Linked DNA regions of Homo sapiens: region 2 is linked to region 1. Evidence: promoter capture Hi-C in human tissues and cell types (Jung and others, 2019). All regions are on one chromosome and are shown on one strand. Each heading gives the region's core, a stretch centred on a gene start or on the middle of the fragment in contact. The rest is flanking DNA. Distances are from core to core; before and after follow the strand shown. Region 1 holds the start of ITGB7 (integrin subunit beta 7). Region 2 overlaps ATF7-NPFF (ATF7-NPFF readthrough).

Evidence for each region. Contacts are between HindIII fragments. The study calls those that stand out against the background at their distance.
Region 2: a contact is called between a fragment that was not itself captured here and the fragment with the promoter of ITGB7 in region 1, in 1 of the 25 tissues and cell types used here (heart left ventricle).

What each region holds. Positions count from the first base shown.
Region 1 is chr12:53,203,323-53,209,949 of GRCh38, forward strand. ITGB7 (integrin subunit beta 7) reads right to left here and starts at 3,929. Exons shown (of 16, transcript NM_000889.3): 1 at 3,880-3,929. RefSeq lists an enhancer at 1,969-2,058. The HindIII fragment of the contact is 22,503 bases long and covers 1-6,627 here.
Region 2 is chr12:53,560,981-53,567,607 of GRCh38, forward strand. All of the region lies in intron 2 of ATF7-NPFF (ATF7-NPFF readthrough), which reads right to left. All of the region lies in intron 2 of ATF7 (activating transcription factor 7), which reads right to left. The region is part of intron 2 of LOC124902937 (a long non-coding RNA gene); the gene reads left to right. Among named protein-coding and RNA genes, the nearest start is that of ATF7-AS1, 50 kb to the left of the region's middle. The HindIII fragment of the contact is 4,567 bases long and covers 532-5,098 here.

The DNA.
Region 1 (6,627 bases), core at 2,679-5,178:
AACACTATTAATCATTAGGAAAATGCAAATGAAACCCACAATGATCTGGGTATGGTGGCTCACACCTGTAATCCTAGCACTTTGGGAGGCTGAGGTGGGTGGATCACTTGAGGTCAGGAGTTCAAGACCGGCCTGGGCAACATGGTGAAACCCCATCTTTGCTAAAAATACAAAACTTAACTGGGCATGGTGGTACATGCCTGTAGCTCCAGCTACTCGGGAAACTGAGGCACAAGAATCGCTTGAACCCGGGAGGCAGAGGCTTCAGTGAGCCAAGATCGGGCCACTGCACTCCAGCCTAGGCGACAGAGCGAGACCCTGTCTCAAAAAAAAAAAAAAAAAAAAAAAAGAAAGAAAGAAAAGAAAAGAAGAAGAAAAAAACCACAATGAGATACCACTTCACTTCTACTAGAATGACTATCAAAAAATGAAAAACAATGAGTGTTGATGAGAACATGGAGAAATTGGGATCTTTATACATTACCGTGTAAGGAATGTAAAGTGGTACAATCTCTGTGGAAAACAATTTGGTTCCTCAATAAATTGAGCATAGGATTATCCTATAACCTGGCAATTTCACTCTTAGGTATATACTCAGAAGAATTGAAAACAGGTGTTCAAACAAAAACTGGTACAGAAATGTTCACAGCAGCACTACTCACAATAGCTAAAAGGTAGAAAGAACCCAGATGTCCATCAACTGATGAATGGATAAAGAAAAGGTGGTATATCCATACAGCAGAACGTTATTTGGCCATAAAAAGCAATGAAATGGGTCTGGGCACAGTGGCTCACGACTGTAATCCCAGCACTTTGGGAGGCCGAGGCGGGTGGATCACTTGAGATCAGGAGTTCAAAACCAGCCATACCAACATGGTGAAACCCCATATCTACTAAAAATACAAAAATTATCCAGGCATGGTGGTGGTCTCCTGTAACCCTAGCTACTTGGGAGGCTGAGGCAGGAAAATCGCTTGAACCCAGGAGGCGGAGGTTGCAGTGAGCCGAGATTGTGCCATTTCATTCCAGCCTGGGCAACAAGAGCAAAACTCGGTCTCAAAAAAAAAAAAAAAATGAAGTACTGATACATACATGCTACAACATGGATGAACCTTGAAAACATGCTCAGTGAACAAAACCATTCATGAAAGGTCACATATTGTATGATTCCACATATGGAACATATCCAAACTAGAAAAATCCACAGAGACAGAAGGTAGATTAGTGGTTACCAGAGCTTGGGAGAAGGGGAAGTGGGGAATGACTGCTTAATGGGCAGTTTCATTTTAGGGTGATGAATAAGTTCTGGAATTAGTGAATGTACTTAATGCCACTGAATTGTACACTTAAAAGGGGTAAAAATGATAAATGTTTGTGTATCTTACCATTTTAAAAATCAAAAAGTTAAATAAGATGGTGAGAAATCTCCTACTCCATATGCCATACCCAGTTCCCACACCTACCCTAAATAAATATCATTTACTACTATCTTTGTTTCTTTTTTCTTTACCTTTTTTTTTTTTTTTTTTTTGGCAGAGTCCCACTCTGTCGACCAGGCTGGAATGCAGTGGCGTGATGTACAACCTCTGCCTCCTGGGTTCAAGTGAGTCGTGTGCCTCATCCTCCTGAGTAGCTGGGATTACAGGTGTGAGCCACCACACCCAGCTAATTTTTGTGTTTTTAGTAGAGACAGAGTTTCACTATGTTGGCCAGGCTGGTCTCGAACCCCTGACTTCAAGTGATCCACCCACCTCGGCCTCCCAAAGTGCTGGAATTACAGGCATGAGCCACTGTGCCTGGCCTTAAATTGTTTCTAGTTCCCTATGACAAATAATGCTGAAATGAAAAGTAATGTATGTATTTATTTATTTATTCATTTGAGAGATAGGGTCTTGCTCTGTCACCCGGCTGTAGTGTACTGGTGCAATCATGGCTCACTGCTGCCTTGACCTTGCCGGCTCAATTGATCCTTCCACCTCAGCCTCCCGAGTAGCTGGTACTACAGGCGCATGCTACCATGTCTGGCTAATTATTTTTGTATTATTTTGCAGAGATGGGGCTTCCCCATGTTGCCCAGGCTGGTCTAGAACTCCTGAGCTCAAGCGACCCACCTGCCTCGGCCTCCCAAATTGCCGTGATTACAGGCGTGAGCCATCACCCCCAGCCAAATGTCATGTATTTATCATTTCACACGTCTGCAACTGAATCTGTAGGATAAATCCCTAGCAGAGGACGTGCAGGATAACTAGATAGGTATCATTTGTAATACTGGTGTGTATTTCATCTACATTCTCATGCTAAGAAATATATATATATAGGTGGGTATTGCCAACATAAACTCTTCAGGACTTGTACTGGTCCACATTCCCATCAGCAATGTATGAGAAAGGCCAACTAACTCCTTGTCATAAACCATTTGCATCTTCTTCAGCCTGGGCCCAGAGTCAGGTCCAGATACTCTGCACAGAGTGTGGGAAAGGGGTGGGGTGTTGAGTCCTTGAATGTCCTGGTCCTGCTCCCCACCACCTGTGACCTCAGGCGCCATATATAACGGAGCCTCCACCCCTCGGGGAGAGGCCAGTCCCAGCTCAGCCTCAGCGTAACCTCAGCCCTGCTTGCTCTGCATGCCTGTGGTCAGGGAGGCTGGAGATGCTGCAACCCAAAGCCGGGTTTTGACTCATCTCTCACAAGTGGAGCCCCGGCTGCCGCATAGGTTTTTCAGAGACCTTAGGCCCACTCATCTCCCCTTAAAGGGGGCCCTGGGACTTCCTGGACAGCCCTTTCCTACCTTTCTTTCCAATTATCCTCTCTTCTCCCCTCCTTGAGAATACATGTTCTGCCACCTATTTCTCTGTCTGCTTCTCTGTCTCTCTCTGGCTCCTTTCATTTCAAAACTTCTATTGCATCTCTCTGCTGCTTTTCTCTGCTCCACTTCTTCATAGGGCTATTTTACTTCCTTTTCCCCTCTGTTCCTAACTATAGAATGGCTGAATCTACTACTCCATCCCACTCTTTTTACAAATGGAAACCTAAATTCCATGAGGCCAGGGTCACCCAGTGAACTAGGGGCAGGGCAGGACAGGGCAGGGCCAGGCCTCTGCTGTGCTTTCTCCTTTCCTCCCTCCAACCCAGGCACTATCTCCATCAAAAGTTGTGTTCTCTCCCCACTAGCCCTGGTGGGCTCTGCCTAATCCCATTTCTCTTTCCTTAGGGGTATTCTGCAGTCTTCCCTTCTCTCTCTGGGACCAAGTGGTTATTTCCATTTTTCTGGACTCCATTCTGACTCCAGTACACACCCTGTGACCCCCCTCAGCAGCTGAGAAACAGAGCCTCTTCCAAACCCATCCCTACCTTCCAAATCAAGCAGAACCCTCTGCTGCCCACTGGGAGTCACAAGGAGGGGACGGAACTGAGCTGCTGGGCCTCAGTGTCCCAGGACAGTGGAGTCTGTGACCAAGGTGCCGATTAGGAAGAAGTCTGAGCTGAAGGCAGAGCATTAGGGATAGCAGCTGGGGGTGATGTTGGAAGAACCCTCCCTCAGTATAATCGGTATACCTGCCCTACTTCGGTATAGTCCTTGGCACATGGCAGGCACTCAGATGACAGCACTCATATACATCCCTGCCTCCAGACCCACTCATGGGAAACTGATGCAGGAGAGATTGGGCTTTTGGAGAGGTGGAGGTGGGGGTACTGTGAAACTGGAGGAGGGAACCAGGTCAGGGGATCTTAGGAATGCAGAAAGGAGTTCAGAGCCTTTCTCAAGTCTGGACAGGACCCTCGGTATCCAGGTCAGAGCCCTCTTCCCAAGAGGTTGGGACCAGGTGGGCCAGAGCTTGTAAGGAGAGGAGGCAGAAGGGCTGGTGCCCTGGTACTCACAGGTGCGTGCAGAGCAGTCCTTCCTCTGGCGGCAGCAGCAGCCTTTGTGTACTGATCTGGGAGACGGCAGAGGAGGAAGTGACACTCCCCAGGGTGGGGAAGATTTGGGGTTGGTGGGGGTGACTGATCTAGAAGGTGGTGCAGATAGGGGTGGGGCTGAGCCAAGGGAGTGGACAATACAGAGATCTGGAAGAAAGAAGCCCATTTATTGAACCCCTGTCATGTGTTGAACGTAACATATTACAATTAACCCTCACAACAATCTCATAAGATAGGGGTTAATATTCCCCCAAGCCCCAATTTTACAGATGCAGAGATTGAGGCTTGGAAGCAGGAAATAAAGAATTTTGCCCAAGGTCCCACAGCTAGTAAGTAGCTAGTCTAGGATTTAAAAAAAAAAAAGAAAAAAGATTTTTATTTTAAATTTTTATTATTTTATTTTTTTTATTTTAATTTAATTTAACTTTTGAGACAGGGTCTTGCTCTGTTTCCCAGGCACAATCTCAGCTCACTGTCCCATGGCACAATCTCAGCTCACTGCAAACTCCGCCTCCCAGGTTCAAGCGATTCTCCTGCCTCAGCCTCCCGAATAGCTGGGATTACAGGGGTGCACTACCATGCCCAGCAACGTTTTATATTCTTAATAGAGACGGGGTTTCACCATGTTGGCCAGGCTGGTCTCAAACTCTTGACCTCAATTGATCTGCCCACCTCGGCCTCCCAAAGTGCTGGGATTACAGGTGTGGGCCACCATGCCCAGCCTGTTTTTTATTTTTGAGACAGGGTCTTGCTGTGTTGCCCAGGCTGGTCTGTAACTCCTGGACTCAAGCAATCCTCCCACTTTGGCCTCCTGAGTAGCTGGGATTACAGGCACACTCGGCTGGTCTGGGATTTAAATCCAGGTCTGCCTGCCTCCAAAATTCATGATCTCTCCATTTACTTATATAGGAAGGAACATGATAGGAGGGAATAGGGGCAGTAAGTACTGTAGAGAGGCCAGAAATTACAGACTTGTTCATTTTGAAAACCCAGGATACATTATATAAGTGTGCTTGACTACATAGGCTCTGGAGCCAAGTTGCTAGAGTTCAAATCCTGGCTCTACTACTTACTAGTAGTAAGGAGCTTAGCTGAGTTACTTAAACCTGCCTGCAGCTGTTTTCTCATCTGTCCAGCAAGACTCACAGGATTGTCGTGAGAATTAAAAGAGATAATTCATATCAATTGCCTACAAGACTACCTGGCACATACTAAGTAAGGGCTTGATAAGAGAATTAGTAGGGATGAGAAGTAGCAGAGGTGAGAAGTGAAGAGGCTTTGAGAAATTCAAGGTCCACACAACTGGAAACTTGGAAGAGAGAGGCATAGGGCCAGGCTCAGAGCATGTGATTGGGGAACCAGGAGCCAACACAGTAGTGGATCCTGGGAAAGGGGTGGAGGAGGTGAACTGGGAGAAGCAGAGAGTGCAGGAACAACAGCTGAAGCCAAGGCAAGGATGAAGCCCGTAGGGAGAGCAGGAAAATATTAATGGGATTTGCTCCTGGCCCATACAGATCACTAAGAGCTTTGAGAGGGAACTAGACATGAGGTCTGTGTTCACAGGTCGATCTCCCCTACCAGAAGGAGCACTCCTTGTAGGCAGGGACTGGCTCTACAAGGCTTCCCTGCTGGAGCCACCACACCTAGCCAAGTGCCCATCTTATAGTAGGTGCTCAATAAATGTCAGATGGATTGCAGAGGTGTAGCTGCTAGGAGGGGACAATTGGAGAGGAGGGGCTCTTTCTCTGGGTGGGCTTGGCTGGCCTCAGGCTATGGGATAGCCAGGACCTATACCCTTCCCCCACAACCAGGGGTTACCACGGCAATGACCCTCCTTCCCCACAGGCCCTGTGGTTTCCTCTAGAGCTTCTTTCACTTTCTTCTTCTGCTTTCCGCCCTCCACTCTTCTCTCCCCTACTCCCACATCCTCAACTTTTTTGTCATAACCACAGGTCACCAATGAAGAGAGCCAGGAACAAGGTAGGCAAGGCACTGTCCCAGGGAAGGTAGGACACGGAGGAGGGGCTTGAGGGGAGTCACAGAGGGCGAAGGGAAGAGTACAGGGTGCAGCAGTAGAGGCCAAAGGCACTGCAAAGGCGTGTTGCAGAGGGAAGGCGTGTGGGAGCAAGGACAGATATTCGGAAAGAAGGTAACAGTGCAGGTGGCAGTGAGTGGAGGTCATGGGGTGAAGAGTGGGAACAGAGAGGGTGGGGGGAGTAAGGTATAAGGTGATAGCAGGGTGGTTGGGGACAGAAGGCCAGAGGGCTCCCTGGGTGAGGGGCTGGTGTAAAACAGTAACACTGTAGCTTAGATGCGGGCTTCTTCTCTTCTGGGGCCAGGAGCCCTCATGAGAACTAAATGAAACTTCAGGGCAGGCATGGTGGCTCACGCCTGTAATCTCAACACTTTGGGAGGCTGAAGTAGGTGGATCACTTGAGGTCAGGAGTTCGAGACCAGCCTAGCCAACATGGTGAAACCCCATCTCTACTAAAAATACAAAAATTAGCTGAGCATGGTGGTGCGCCCCTGTAATCCCAGCTACTTGGGAGGCTGAGGCAGGAGAATCGCTTGAACCCGGGAGGCAGAAGTTGCAGTGAGCCAAGATCACACCACTGCACTCCAGACTGGGCAACAGGAGTGAAATTCCGTCTCAAGAAAAAAAATGAAAAACAAAAAGATAAATAAAACTTCAATGGACTCCTTCCCCAG
Region 2 (6,627 bases), core at 1,565-4,064, 360 kb after region 1:
TGTAGCTCAGGCTGGAGTGCAGTGATGTGATCTTAGATCACTGTAACCTCAAACTCTTAGACTCAAGCAATCTTCCCACCTCAGCCTACCAAGTAGCTGGGACTACAGGTTCGCACCACCATGGGCTATTGTTTTGTTTACTTTAGAGATGGGGTGTTGCTATGTTGCCCAGGCTGACTGCAAACTCTTGGCCTCAAGTGATCATCCCACCTCAGCCTTCCAAAGAGCTGGGTTTATCTGCACCCATATACTTGGGGGCGTATTTTGATGAAAGGAAATAGTATGAAAAAGTCACAGAAGACAGCACCACTGCACTCCAGCCTGGTCAACAGAGTAAGACTGTCTCTTTAAAAAAAAAAAAAAAAAAAGTCATAGAAAACTTGAGAAAAACTATGAGGAGTAAGTTCTAGAATAGTGATGCTGGTGCTGAGCAGGTGAAGGAAGAAATAACTGATCTTTTTTTTGAACACTATTTAATTAATCACTTCAAGTGATCACATATTCTGAAAGAAGAAACTGGAAGATCTGTAAAAGTCTTGACAAGGCTTCTTGCCCTCACTGCAGTGCTTCTGTTCCCAATGTCAGACATCATTTAAGTTTGGGAAAGCAGGGAAAGGGAGAAGAAGGAAGGGATTAAATACACACATACTTCAAACCAAACATAACTTTCATTTCTACCTTGGTCAATCCTAGGCTCCTGCTCTCTACTTCAAGATGTTTAGCCAATGATGGGAAATAAATAAATAAAAGGAAAAAAAAGATGCTACTGTTTGCTATGTGAGTCACACATCCTGCTTTGAATGTTTCATGGCTCTTAAATGAATCATTTCAAAGTACAGGATTGTTCAACAAATAAAATACAACCACAGCAACAGTAGCTCATATGCTGCATGTGTGAGCGACATAATTTATAGAGGAAAAACAAGAACAGAAAACTTTCCCCCAAAATACTCAAAGATAAAATGTTGTCAGGGGAATGAAGGAGGACAAACTAAACAGAGGAGCGGGGACAACCCACCAAACTGTACCTAAGGTAAATTCATTTGTCTATGGATTGAGGAATTTTCTGTTTTGGGAAGGCTGTTGGAATATCTTAAAGATTCTGGCAGCTTAACAAATAAGTCCACTGTATAAAGAAAAGGAATTTTGAAAGCAGAGATATTATTTGATAGTTGGTCTAGCTGCCATGCTGCTGCTACAATGTAAGCTCCTCAAGAACAAGGATCTCTCCATTTGCTTGTTCATGGACAAATCCCAAGCACCTAGAACGGTATCTGTACACAGTAGGTGCTTAATATTTGTTGAATAAATGCCAACTAGCACGTCTCACTAAAGTGCTACAAAGCAACCCCAACCTACAAAACTTTTGCCCATGTAGGCCGGGCACGGTGGCTCACGCCTGTAATCCCAGCACTTTGAGAGGCCGAGGCGGGCAGATCACCTGAGGTCAGGAATTCAAGACCAGCCTGGCCAACATGGTGAAACCCCGTCTCTACTTAAAAAATACAAAAAATTAGCTGGGTGTGGTGGTACGCACCTGTAATCCCAGCTACTCGGGAGGCTGAGGCAGGAGAATCACTTGAACCCAGAAGGCCGGTGAGCCGAGATTGTGCCACTGCACTCCAGCCTGGGGGACAAGAGCGAAACTTCATCTCAAAAAAAAAAAAATTTTTTTTTGCCCATGTGTGCAATGGTGGGACAATTTTCATCATCCATATCCAAAAGGAGAGTTGGTATCTATCTTAAACACCAGCTTTTTCCTACGGAACCAGAGGCTGGGCCCAGTCAGGACCAAGAATACCCTAATGCAAGGATGCAAGAAGATCAGAGTAAGAAACAAATAGAATTTCAAAAATTGTAACCACAGGAAAAAGACAAAATGGCAGCAATGGGGATTTAAATCATTAGGAAGGATTTGACTCTTGGGGGTGGGGTGGGTTTGAAATCATTCCCAAAGGAGATTTTAAAGGAATGTAAAATACATTACCTTTCTGTCCTCTTGTCCTTGTTTATGATTTTATTTTCTGCTATTCTTCTACTAACACTTTCTACCCAGGTCAGTCTCTTACTGATCTGCGAAGTCTATTTATTTTCAATTTTGTGCCTCCACACACATTCCCATATTCCTTGAAATGTGTTCCTCTCTCCATTGTTTACTGGAATACTACCATTTTTCTAGGCCCAGCTGAAATCCAATAGCTTTTTGAAAGCTTCTCTAATGACTCCAATCTTCAGTGATCTATCTTTCTTGAACTTGTATAGTATTCAAATGGAAATTTATTTATATAATTATACATATAGAATTTTAGTCTATATGGTCTCACAATTTTTATCTTTTTAAAGTAGACTGTATGGGCAGGCGCAGTGGCTCACACCTGTAATCCCAGCACTCTGGGAGGCTGAGGCGGGAGAATTGCTTGACCCCAAGAGTTTGAGACCAGTCTGGGCAACAAGGTGAAACCCCACCTCTACCGAAAAGAAAAAAAAAAAATTAGCCAGGTGTGGTGGTGTGTGCCTGTAGTCCCAACTAGGAAGGCTGAGGTGGGAGGGATCACTTGAACTGGAGGCAGAGGTTGCAGTGAGCCAAGATTGTGCCATCGCACTCCAGCCTGGGCAACAGAACAAGGATGTCTCAAACAAAGTAGACTGTAAACTACTAGAGGGTTAAAAACATGTCTCACACTTATTTTTTATCCTTTTCACCTGCCCCACCTCTGGGCTTGCCCAGTTTGGCACTCAATAAATTATTGCTTCAGTGATTGGGTAAAGTTTTATATAGTGACATAAGAGTAACTGTTGAAAAGCTTTATCACTCTTGGATTCTCAGACCTTAACATGGCACACTTTCAGAAAGATCTGATGGCTTTCCAACTCCATTTGCAAAGTAAATTTCACTGTTCAAATCAGTGAGAATTAGTGTATCCTCTTGCCTACTTTTTTTGATACCAGATTCCCTTTATTACAGAAAGGCACCTAAGACAATTACAGTATGCTAGAGTTATACTGCTGTTGTATGAAAGGACACTGGTGCCATGGTCTTTGTGGGTCAATTCACTTTCTTAGGGTATCTGATTCCAGCACTGAATTTTATTACCAATTAAAATGTCCTGTGAGGCCAGATACAGTGGCTTATGCCTGTAATCCAGCACTTTGGGAGGCTGAGGTGGGCAGATCACTTGAGGCTAGGCGTTTGAGACCAGCCTGGCCAACATGGCAAAACCCTGTCTCTACTAAAAATATAAAAATTAGCTGGACATGGTGGTGCATGCCTGATAATCCCAGTTACTTGGGTGGCTGAGGCACAAGAATCACCTGAACCCAGGAAGTGGAGGGTGCAGTGAGCTGAGATCACACAACTGCATTCCAGCCTGGGCGACAGAGCAAGACTCTGTTTCAAAATATAAACTAAACTCAACTAAAATACCTTGTGCAAAAAAATGTGAATTTACAAGCCATTCCCTTTTAAGTTCCTTCTTCAATCCCCAAACCACTAGTGGTAATTTTAACCACATCCTTTTGAGCATTTTCTTTTAAGATCTCAATTATTTGAATTTTACAGGCAGAATATGAGCATATGAGCATCTCATAGGTGTCAAACAGTGTCAAGAACTGGATTCCTCCTTTAAAAAATCGTACACTCCAGTATCTGACAAAAGGAAAAGTATGTTACAATTAAATCAACAAGCTAGTTAGAGGGGAACAGAAAAAGAATTTTAAACCCATAGTCAACACTGAGTTGTTGGGTCTTCATCGTTATGATCTGGGTTTAATAGCAATGCATTATTATTCTACATCAAACTTGTCCAACCTTTGGCCTGCAGACCACATGCAGCCCGGAATGGCTTTCAACATGGCCCAACATAAATTCGTAAGCTTTCTTAAAACATTATCAGATTTTTTGGCGATTTTTTTTTTGTTTAGTTCATCAGCTATTGTTGGCGTTAGTATATTTTTATGTGTGGCCCAAGACAATTCTTCTTCCAATGTGGCCCAGGGAAGCCAAAAGATTGTACACCTCTGTTTTACATTATACAGACCAATGGTATAACTATTCCTCTAAGTACCTAAGTTTTAAGCCCTCAGCCATACTGCAATACTTGCTTCTATTTTGGTTCCTTGTTCCTTCCTCCTGACAAATGTGAAAATTCATGAGCCCCATGGGTCAAGTCTTCTGCCAAGTAAGTTGCAGGTGCCCAATAAATCACAGCAAAAAGGAAACTGAGCTCCAAAGGTCATTTAGGCCAACTCCATCAGGGATTGGGCAATGTAGGAAAGAGGGTGGTAAATATAATTTCTTACCAGTTTGGGTTAAAAAAGATTAGTTTTTTTTTTTCAAATGTTACTTATTATTTGATGGGATTGAGAAATACAACCTCATCATAGGTATAGATATACTTAGCCAAAGTCCTGGTCATCTCAGTTTCTGCTATGTGATTCCTAAACACCATAGTCAAGCAGAAAGTATAATTCTTTGCTCTTTCTTCTCTCACACTCTCTTTTTCTGGGCGGGGGCGGGGGGGAGGGGGGCAGGGGGCAGAGTCTTACTTCATCACCCAGACTGGAGTATAGTGGCATGATATTGGCTAACTGCAACCTCTGCCTCCCAGGTTCAAGTGATTCTCGTACTTCGGCCTCCTGAGTAGCTGGGATTACAGGTGTGTGCTACCACACCCGGATAATTTTTATAGTTTTAGTAGAGATGGGGTTTCACCATATTGGCCAGGCTGGTCTCAAACTCCTAACCTCAAGTGATCCACCTGCCTCAGCTTCCCAAAGTGCTGGGATTACAGGTGTGAGCCCCTGTGCCTGGCCCCCTTCTCTTTTTAATAGTACTCTCTTATGACTTTTTTCAATAAGGCTATTGTATCAGCCTGTTCTCTCGCTGCTAATAACGACATACCCAAGACTGGGTAATTTATAAAGGAAAGAGGTTTTATGGACTCACAGTTCCACATGGCTGGGGAGGTCTCACAATCATGGCGGGAGGCAAAGGAGAAGCAGAGTCACATCTTACATGGCAGTAGGCAAGAAGAGCATGTGCAGGGGAACTCCCCTTTATAAAACCATCAGATCTAGTGAGATTTATTCACTATCAATGAGAGCAGCATGGGAAAAACCTGCCCCTCATGATTCAATTACTTCCCATTAGGTCCCTCCCACAATACATGGGGATTATTACAATTCAAGGTGAGATTTAGGAGAGGATACAGCCAAAGTATATCAGCTATAAACTATAAACTATCAGTCCTGAGAAGACTGTTGTCAATTAATGCCTTGTATAACTGGATTGCTCAGGAGAAGGGAGAGTAAGGCAGTGAAAGGGAAGGGGCAATAGGTTTGAGGAAGACATTATTGGTTTCTTAACCCAACCCCCATTTTTCAACCATTTTCTCTTGCTTGCCTCACTATAAAGGCTGAAAAGCAAGATATTCCTTTTTCCTATGCAGCTGGTATTAAACCTGTCACACAGTTCAGGCCAATAAGACAATGAAATCCACCGTGGTGGGGGTGGAGGATGGCACTTCTGATGTAAGGCTTTTGTCTCCTTATAAAAGGGAAAGCCAGAACAAGAGAGTTCCTGATGCTACCTGCCCCTTATTTCTTTCCCATCCTCTGATAGTGAGGCAACAGGAATGAGGATTAAAAGGTAAAAGCTAAAAATGGTACAGCAGAGAGAAAGAACCTAGGTCCTTGATAAACTTGCTTAGCTGCTGAAACAGTCCTAATTCTGGACACCTTGTGTTATAAATGTTGACACAGTTTTTTTTTGTTTTTGTTTTTGCTTTGTTTTGAGATGCAGTCTTGCTCTCTTGCCCAGGCTGCAGTGCAATGGCATGATCTTGGCTCACTGCAACCTCTGCCTCCCGGGTTCAAGCAATTCTCCTGCCTCAGCCTCCTGAGTAGCTGGGATTACAGACACACGCCACCATGCCCAGCTAATTTTTGTATTTTTAGTACAGATGGGGTTTCACCATCTTGGTCAGGCTAGTCTCGAACTCCTGACCTTGTGATCCGCCCGCCTCTGCCTCCCTAAGTGCTGGGATTACAGGCGTGAGCCATTGCGCCCAGCCTGTGTTCACACAGTTTTAAGCTACTGTTAGGTATTTGCATCTGAAACCATTCCTAACCAATATACGATTTTCAATATGTATAGATTCTACTTCATTTTCTATCTAAGGAACTTAGAAATGGAATATACAAGAAATTATTTTATTCTACATCTTCATGAATATTTATCAGTTGTATCCTAATGCTGAATTCTGTTTTCTTTTTCACATAATATACCAAATAAATTCCATCTCATCACCACCTATTGCCTCAAGCTTCCTTAGAAACAATGGCTATACACTGGGCTTTTAGGAAGAACAAGATGGTAAGAGAGTGGCACCTTACAATGCTGCTTTGGAAACTGGGGCAGTTAAAGATCACTCCTCACTAAAGAATGGAGTTTTAGACTGGAGCAGCATGTTTTCTTATTTCTCGCTGCCCCTCTTCCTCAATACCCAGTGTTTGGCTTTTTATCAAACTCCAGGGCACTCTTGGGAACTACGCTTAAGAATTAACAAGGATAGATCCATTATCTTTCCTTAGATGGCAGCTACTTACTTGGATGGGTTAAATGCTCAA